Linked DNA regions of Homo sapiens: region 1 is linked to region 2. The links are contacts of gene promoters, found by promoter capture Hi-C in blood cells and fetal thymus (Javierre and others, 2016). All regions are on one chromosome and are shown on one strand. Each heading gives the region's core, a stretch centred on a gene start or on the middle of the fragment in contact. The rest is flanking DNA. Distances are from core to core; before and after follow the strand shown. Region 1 overlaps OR6C74 (olfactory receptor family 6 subfamily C member 74). Region 2 holds the start of OR6C70 (olfactory receptor family 6 subfamily C member 70).

Region 1 (4,416 bases), core at 292-2,791, 210 kb after region 2:
CATTAAACTGTCTTCTGCTTGGAGGTGAGGTTTCACTGTGGACGTGCCCCTATCTGCCTAAGCATTTGACTACCTCCTGTCACTATCAAGTTACATGCAGATGGTGTAATAGTACCTTATTGTCACTATCAAGTGACATGCAGGTGGTGTAACAGTACCTCCTGTCACTATCAAGTGACATGCAGGTGGTGTAATAGTACCTTATTGTCTCTGTTATCCTGACAGAGCCATCTCTGTCTGGTAAAGGATGGAAGATGCAGCAGTCCATCAAAATTAAGGCTCTTGTGGCAGACGTAGAGTGGAAGTTTTCTTCTGGAGGAAAGGGCCCAGGATACTTCTTAAAGGCAAAGATTACTAATACCTCTCTCCATGGCCCCTGAGTATACAAGGTGTTTTCTCCTCATATGCCAGCTTTTTCTCTACCTATACTTCCTTCAAATCTGGGTTCTACATTCCTGTAGCTATAGCTTCACCTTTTTTTTTCTCCCAATCATAGCCGACTCATATTCAGATCTTTCATCTAGAAGAGTCAGGTAAATGAAGAAAAACGAAATTTTTTTTAAATTTCAACAAGTATCAAACTCTAATTTCTTAGGCCCCCTTGTGTCCAAATTACCACCTGGAAGGTATGGCACCAGCCTTATCTAGATTTGATCTTAGGGAAAAGAAAGGTACATCATTCTTTGAATGACTGAGGTGGAATTTTGAATTTTCAAAGTAAGTCTGTATAATTCCCAACCACTTTTATCTTGATCATTACCCTGGAAGAAGATGAGTAGTCAAGTCTGGGAACAGCTGCATTCAATGACCATACTGCTTTACCTAGGTGCATGGATCAGGAAGAGATGAGGAGGCAGAGGCTATTAGTCCTTTGCTGAATAGCTTGGACAATAAAAGTTGTCAAACTGTAGATGCTCTGAGGATCTAAAGACATGACACAGATAATGTCAAAGATCACAGTTGTGTGCCATAGTCAACTTATCAGTAACCTAAAACAGCATCTACCCGGTGAGGCACTACCAATAGACCCAAGGTAGTCAAGTTGCCAAAAGCAGGAGGAGGCAACATTCCTTGCAATATGGCCTACCCCAGCATGAGAAAAGCAAGTCAACTTTTGACAGGAGCTGCAAATATGCCATGCAATGATAGCATCTGCATTAGAAACATAGAGCCAAACTCTATCAGCAGCCTGATTCTAGTTATTTTTCTTATGAGAAAATGGTGTTAAAAACCAAGATCTGGGCACTGGGTGTGCTTATTGCTACTGGGCTGTTTTTGCTTCTAGACACTCTCAGGTGACAGAGCAAGGAAATATAGGTGTTTATATTAACCTACGCCTAGACACACAATGATAAATATTTTATAGTATCAATCTGTATATATATTAAATTAAACTTTAGTTTATACCGTCACCATGTTTAAAATGCCATCACGAGTCATTCCTTATCAGTAATCTCCCAATGCAGCAGTGAGATACTGGCTTCCATCATCTGCCATCCACTTGCTCAATCATTCAGTTCCAGTATGTATGTGTATTGGGAGAAAACTTTATTAACTTCACTGTATTGGTTATGTATAGTTCCTTTTGACGTTAGTCTTACTGACTCCACTTATTTCTCTTAGGTCAGCAACTTTTTACACTATGCCCTTCAGTGAGGTTGTGTCACACATTTGTAATATAGCTAAATTCTTCCACATTCTATTGTGATATCCCAGATTTTTTTTTAATTTTCACACATTAGAAGCATTCTTTGTATTGTAAAGTTCTACTGGTTTTGACAACTGCACGGTGTTATGTTATTGCAGGATCTGGCCAGCAGTCCGCAATGCAATGAGGGGCTCTTTCTTTATTCCCAGGCAGATTGGCAGGTCGAGAAATAATAGACACACACAAGACAGTGAAAGCTGGGTCCAGGGGGGTCACCGCCTTCTAGTCCCGCGATGCCACTAATGCACTGGATATACCAGCATTTATTATTAAGTTTAGTGAGGGCGGGGCAGGTTAGTGAGGGATTTAGGGTCTTTTGATTATGAGGTGAGATGGTCACATGGGGATGAAGTAGTTCTTTAACATAACATCTGTATGCAGAAGTACAGTATACAGAGATAAGAGTTTACAATATAGTGTGTGCATCAGTAATTTCTAACAGAGCCTTAAAACAGAAACACAGTCTTTCCATAACCTATGATTAGCAAGTTATTAATCAGCAGTAACAGTTGCAGCAAAAGCTGGTTACAAACAATCCATAGAAACAGGAGGTGAAGCTAGACAACCGGTTAGACCGGAAAATATCAGAAGGGAGTATGCCTTACCCCCAAAGAGGCCTAGAAGAGCTGTGGCAAGATGAGGGCGTTTATAGCCCTATCTTATCCATATGAACAGGTGCCCCCCCAATGCGTCCATTTATAGGCTCTACACAAGGGTCCCATTCCATTCCCAGAGCTATGAACATCTGCTTTTCTGGGACAGGAATCTTGGTGATGTGAAACCTCCCTGACTGCATGTCCGTTCGTAGGCTCTCTGCAGGGGGAAGCACATCATGTGCTGTTGGCTCATTCTGGCAGTCCAACCTGGCATTGTCTTTACACAATCCTGCATGCAATTTTGTATTTACAATAATCAGGAGCATTTCACCTTTTATTCCATAGCAATAGTTTCAGGGGGTCTCCCTACATTATGTATTCATCTTTACATTACTATATAGAATAATTTTACTACCCTAACCAAAGATTCCCTATGCTTCCTCGTTTAATCCTTACTCCAACAAAGTCCTGGCAACCACTGATATGTTACTTTCTCTATAAATTTATCTCTACCAGAATATTATATAAATGAAATTAAATAATTTATAGCCTTTTAAGTCTGCCTAGTTTCATTGAGAAATATGCATTTAAAATTCTTCTCTGTCATTGTTCAACTCCCACTTATGAGTGAGAACATGCGGTGTTTGGTTTTCTGTTCTTGTGTTAGTTTGCTGAGAATGATAGTTTCCAGCATCATCCATGTCCCTGCAAAGGATATGAACTCATCGTTTTTTATGGATGTATATTTTATAGTGTTCCATGGTGTATATGTACCACATTTTCTTTATCCAACCTATCATTGATGGGCATTTGGGTTGGTTCCAAGTCTTTGCTATTGCTAATAGTGCCACAATAAACATATGTGTGCATGTGTCTTTATAGTAGAATGATTTATAATCCTTTGGGTATATACCCAGTAATGGGATTGCTGGGTCAAATGGTATTTCTAGTTCTAGATCCTTGAGGAATCACCACACTGTCTTCCACAATGGTTGAACTAATTTATACTCCCACCAACAGTGTAAAAGTGTTCCTACTTCTCCACATCCTCACCAACATCTGTTGTTTCCTCGTTCCCTTTGCCTCCCAGTCCCCAGGGGGTGCAATGCAGAGGGGGCTCCATGGGTAGAGCAGACACAATCAGTCTGTAACACAACTGTGAAATCCTGAACTTAGGGAACCCCCACTATTTTAAAGAGATAGCTAGAAAACCTGCCCAACCTGGCCACCCTGGGAGACATCTATTTTATAATCCTAGTCAGGAAGCAAATCTCCCTTCTGCCCTGGAGGGAGGTATTATTTCGATCTTTCAAGGCTGAATGATATTAAAACAACTTTGTAAAAAAAAATCCAGACCAAGCATAATATTAAATGTGTAGAAATGCCATGGAGAATTGCAACCTAACAGTGATAACTGATATATTTGGTACTACAAGTGGTTGCATGAAATAGATCCTTAAGAAGGGTAATTTATAATTAGTTAATATCATCTTGAAAGGTCTGAGAAGTGCTGCAACCATAAGAAAATGGAATATTACAAGTCTATGGCATCAAATATTATCACTTGGAAAGAAGCTTATATTTAAGGCTGAGCTTTCTCAAAGTAGATGTATAAGGTAAAGAGCACTGTGCTAAGCATGTGAAATACAAGTACTGCACATGCTATAAGGCTATAACATGGTAAGATCCATATTGAGGATCTTAAAGAAAGAAAATTACAAGGTTGTATCCTTTAATTATTATCTTGAATTATACAATAATCAGCAAATCATGAAGTTCCCATGACTGTCCTAAATAAATTTATCTCTTAAATCCTCATGTCACTTGGTGCTGAAAACAAAGGTAGGCTCTGATCTCGCAGTTTATTATACAGCAATATTGGTTAAATTTACATCCTTCCCAGATATCTTTTGTGAAAGTTAATTGATTGGAAATCTGAAAGGATCCCAACTGGGAATTACATATATGTGTGTATGTATTTCATATATGTAAATATAAATCTAAAACTTAGAGGAATTGCAATATGGAACAGCTTTATTGTATGCAATTTACTTACATACCCCTTAGCTATGTAACTGGAGAATACCCAGAGGAAAATCTTTTGGCAAGATA
Region 2 (4,604 bases), core at 757-3,256:
GGAGCTCTGCTATATCTGCAGCTATTTGAAGCTTACTAAAACAATGGACACTCTAACTACATTTTTAATTTTTTTCTTTTTTTTTGAGACAGAGTCTTGCTTTTGTCACCCAGGTCAGAGTGCAATGGCATGATCTTGGCTCACTGCAACCTTCACCTCCTGGGTTCAAGTGATTCTCCTGCCTCAGCCTCCTGAGTAGCTGGGATTACAGGCACCCACCACCATGCCCGGCTAATTTTTGTATTTTTAGTAGAGACGGGGTTTAGCCATATCGGCCGGGCTGGTCTCGAACTCCTGACCTCGTGATCTGCCTGCCTCGGCCTCTCAAAGTGCTGGGATTACAGTCGTGAGCCACTGTGCCCGGCCTTAATTTTTATTAATCTCTTCACTGGTTATTAAAGTTATTAGACATGTGTTGTGTATACATCTCAATTAATCCTTCTAACTGAGATCAGAATTATTTTACCTTTTTTTTGTAGATGAAAAAACTAAAGTAAGAAAGTTAGTTTTCCCAAGACCATATAACTAATAATAATGGAGAAAATTCCAAATTTTATTAAACTTTTCTAAAAATTTCAAGATCTTTGACTTTAAACTGTTAACTTAGCCATTTTACACTTTCTTATGTCTTATTTTTTTCGTTTGTTTGTGATACTCAGCTTAACATTTAAAAATTAATTATTAAACAATAAAGAAGCTTCCCAAACTTTAACCCTGAGAGTGGATTGCCTTTTTTCTCAGTAGCCATTGATAAGTTATTTCTCAGATCCTTAGCTGGATTTTAAGTCCACTTTCTAATTCCTAGCAGTCTGTCACCTTTGCTTTACTTCTGTACTATTACTCACTTCACTTTTTTCATTGGCAACCTGATACTCTGGGAAACCTACAATAACAAACTTAAAATACCATCAGAATCCTTTTGTCCCATTCAAATGATTACACCCTTCCTACCCCATTATTTCCCTAAATTAATAGTCGTTGGTTACCTGCATGAATAATTGTTGGGGACTCAGATAGTGTGGCAAGAAAGCACTGATTTTTCACTCACAGTATTACATCTAGAAAGTAGGTTTAGACTGTAGGTACCTGTAACTGTAGCGACTTGGAAGAGATGCAATGTTTTATCTGTTTTCTTTCTTACTCCTATGGTCTTGATTACACAAGACAAAATTTTTAAGTCCTAAATAGACTTTTTTTTTGTAAATGTGGCAATATATGCATAATATTAAGTTTTGAGTTTCCTAGATTCAACTAGTATTTATTTTGTTGTGGTATCAACTCATACTTTTTAGGGGCATTTTTCCGTATCTTCATATGTAGTTCATAGAGAAGTTGAAAAAGGCTGTATAGCAGGGCTTTAAACAAATGTCACTTTAATATAATATAATGTAAAGTTTCAAAATTTGACTGTAGGTCTTTTAATTCTTAACAAAAAAGACAGGGTCTCTCTCTGTCACCCAAGCTGGCATCTCCCTATGTTGCTCACGCTGATCTTCAACTCCTGGCCCCAGGCGATCCCCAGTTTGGCCTCCCAAGTGCTGGGATTACAGGCATGAGTCACTGTGCCTTCCCTTAACTTAGGTCTTAATTCATTACACTGGCATCATTTTCTTTAGATGAAATTAATAATTTTAAAATGAATGAACTATTTTTGAATCCTGAACCAAGATCTTTACCTAATTTATTTACAACTTGACAAACCTGGAATTAGTTACAATTAAGTGGAATCTTGAAGTGGAAGCATGAAAAAAACTAGCTTGAAAATCAACTATTAAGGGCTTTGCAAATCAATTTTCCAAAGTGAGATGATGTTTGTTGTACTTTTAAACCCCTAGTTTACAATTTCTGTTGCATAGTTCTATATCATATCTTCAACATCCATGGAGTACTACCTCTTAAATGTATATGTTTGTAAGTGTGGAAACTTTCCTGTATCTTTTCCTGGACCTAGCTCAACCCTTGCACCTTTTTATTCCTAGAATTTGATTGAAATCACAACAGAGAAATGAAGAATCATACAAGGCAGATAGAATTTATTCTTCTGGGACTGACGGATAATTCTCAGTTACAGATTGTAATTTTCTTATTTCTACTTCTAAATTGTGTGTTGAGCATGATAGGGAACTTCACTATCATTGCCCTCATTCTGCTGGATTCCCAGCTCAAGACTCCAATGTATTTCTTCCTCCGTAATTTCTCTTTTCTGGAAATTTCATTCACAACTGCTTGCATTCCCAGATTCCTAATCACCATTGTTACCAGGGAAAAGACCATTTCCTGTAATGGTTGCATATCTCAGTTGTTTTTTTACATATTCTTGGGGGTTACAGAATTTTTCCTTCTAGCTGCTCTGTCCTATGATCGCTATGTTGCCATCTGCAAACCTTTGCGTTATATGTCCATCATGAGTAACAAAGTTTGCTACCAGCTTGTATTCAGTTCTTGGGTAACTGGATTCCTGATCATTTTCACTCCACTGATTTTAGGTCTTAACTTGGATTTCTGTGCTTCAAATATCATTGATCATTTCATTTGTGACATTTCTCTTATCCTACAACTTTCTTGCTCAGACACACATTTACTGGAACTGATTGCCTTTTTATTAGCTGTGATGACACTTATTGTCACATTGTTTTTAGTAATCCTTTCTTACTCTTACATCATCAAGACAATTCTGAAATTCCCTTCAGCTCAGCAAAAGAAGAAAGCCTTTTCCACCTGCTCTTCTCACATGATTGTTGTCTCCATCACTTATGGTAGTTGTATGTTTATCTACATAAAGCCATCAGCGAATGAAAGAGTTGCTTTAAGCAAAGGAGTAACTGTGCTCAATACTTCAGTTGCCCCGTTGTTAAACCCATTTATTTATACTCTGAGGAATCAGCAAGTTAAACAAGCCTTCAAAGCTGTATTTAGAAAGATATTTTCTGCTTCAGACAAGTAATACAACTTGTTGAAATAATTAACATGAAAACATAAAAGGATCTTTGAACAAAACACTAATTTGACTCTTCTAGTTTAAGAATTGATACCCAATATTCAATTATTTGTATGACTTTAGCTTGTCCAACAATCAGAACGTTTTTCATTCTATCCATTCTGACTTTAATTTTCTCTTTTTCAGTATTCAAACCTTTCTGTATTAGAAAGAAAACAATTGCAAAATTGATTTTCTCTAAAAGCATGTTAGAATAAAATAAATGAGTGGTTTTCAGTGATTATAGAATATAAGTTCTTCAAGAGTTTGATCTAAATAATTTATAAAAATTAAAAAATTATTTAAGAAAATTTGCGGGTACATAGTAGGTGTATAAATTTATGGGGTATATGAGATGTTTTGATACAGGCATTCAATGTGAAACAAATGCATCATGGAGAATGGTGTACCCATCCCCTCAAGTACTTATCCTTTGAGTTACAAGCAATCCTATTACATTTTTAAAGTTATTTAAAAATATACAATTTAGTTATTATCGACTGTAGTCTCCCTGTTGTGCTATTAAATAGTAGATCTTATGCTAAGTAATTTAAAGAAATGTACCTTGTTTTAGTTAAATGCCATGTTCTTTAAAAGTCTTAGATAAATCAAATATTGTCATTGTTAAAAAATATATTTAAAATGTTTCAAGAAAGCTTACTCCTTAAAAATAATGTAGAAAATTATTTTGTAAAGTGAACTTTTCGAACTGTCAATTGTCAACACAGAAAAGCGTAATTTCCTTTGAAGGGAATCATACATTTCATGTATGTGATATTTATTATTTATGTTGGACAGATTTTAGAAATTGCAGTAGAGAATAAAATATGGCTTTAATCACAAGCAGTTGATTTCACACACAATGTTTTTCAAGACCATATAAGCAAGTTTAATTTTTGAACATGTCAATTAATGTGTTAAGTAAATGGGAATATATAATGAATTGTATTACCTGTCACATGATTATTAGTTTAACTTTTGCCCAAGTTTCCCACAGTACATTATATTGAATATCAGTGTCTTAAAATTTGAGTGGTTTTAAAAATAATCTTATGTTTCATTTCCTCCAAACCAGAGATATGAAACGTTGGTTTTAAAAATAAGCTTATGTTTCATTTCCTCCAAACCAGGGATATGAAACTATGTGCTTTTCTTTTTTACTCACGTGTGTCAGTTGCTAGAGCACTTAGATATCACACTCTATATTTTTCTGATAAATATGTGGATATGCCATTATACCAATTGAATTATACTATGAGGGTGATTAAGCTACTTTACCTTGAAATGTGGCAGTGGTATTTGTTTCTATGTATATCTATAGTTACCATGAATTTACCTAGTCAATATTTCTGAAAATATTTGACAGTTAATTTTAATGGCAATGAGAAAAATAAACATAAAAAGACAAAATTTATTACAAGATTCCTGGTGGACTCATCTTCACAGTAAATTACAAGAAGATAAGTTTATTTACAAAGATGTATGCAAAGTCAAAAAGACAGATTTTTTCCCTCAAATATCAAGACAATGATTACTGCGTCACTTTGTCCAGAAAAACTGGAAAAGCTAAATGCATATGGCAGTGTGCTGCAGAAGCTTCTCATGTTTCATTATCTGTATAAGCTCA

Evidence for each region. Contacts are between HindIII fragments. The CHiCAGO score rates a contact against its expected background, and 5 or more counts as called.
Region 1: a fragment that was not itself captured here is called in contact with the fragment with the promoter of OR6C70 in region 2 in 1 of 17 cell types (neutrophils); the score reaches 5.3 in neutrophils.

The regions. Positions count from the first base shown.
Region 1 is chr12:55,254,244-55,258,659 of GRCh38, reverse strand. OR6C74 (olfactory receptor family 6 subfamily C member 74) reads right to left here. Exons shown (of 2, transcript NM_001005490.2): 2 at 2,035-4,416. Among named protein-coding and RNA genes, the nearest start is that of OR6C74, 12 kb to the right of the region's middle. The HindIII fragment of the contact is 4,681 bases long and covers 1-3,881 here.
Region 2 is chr12:55,467,540-55,472,143 of GRCh38, reverse strand. It overlaps OR6C70 (olfactory receptor family 6 subfamily C member 70), which reads left to right and starts at 2,006. Exons shown (of 1, transcript NM_001005499.1): 1 at 2,006-2,944. The coding sequence starts at 2,006. The coding sequence ends at 2,944. The HindIII fragment of the contact is 2,936 bases long and covers 700-3,635 here.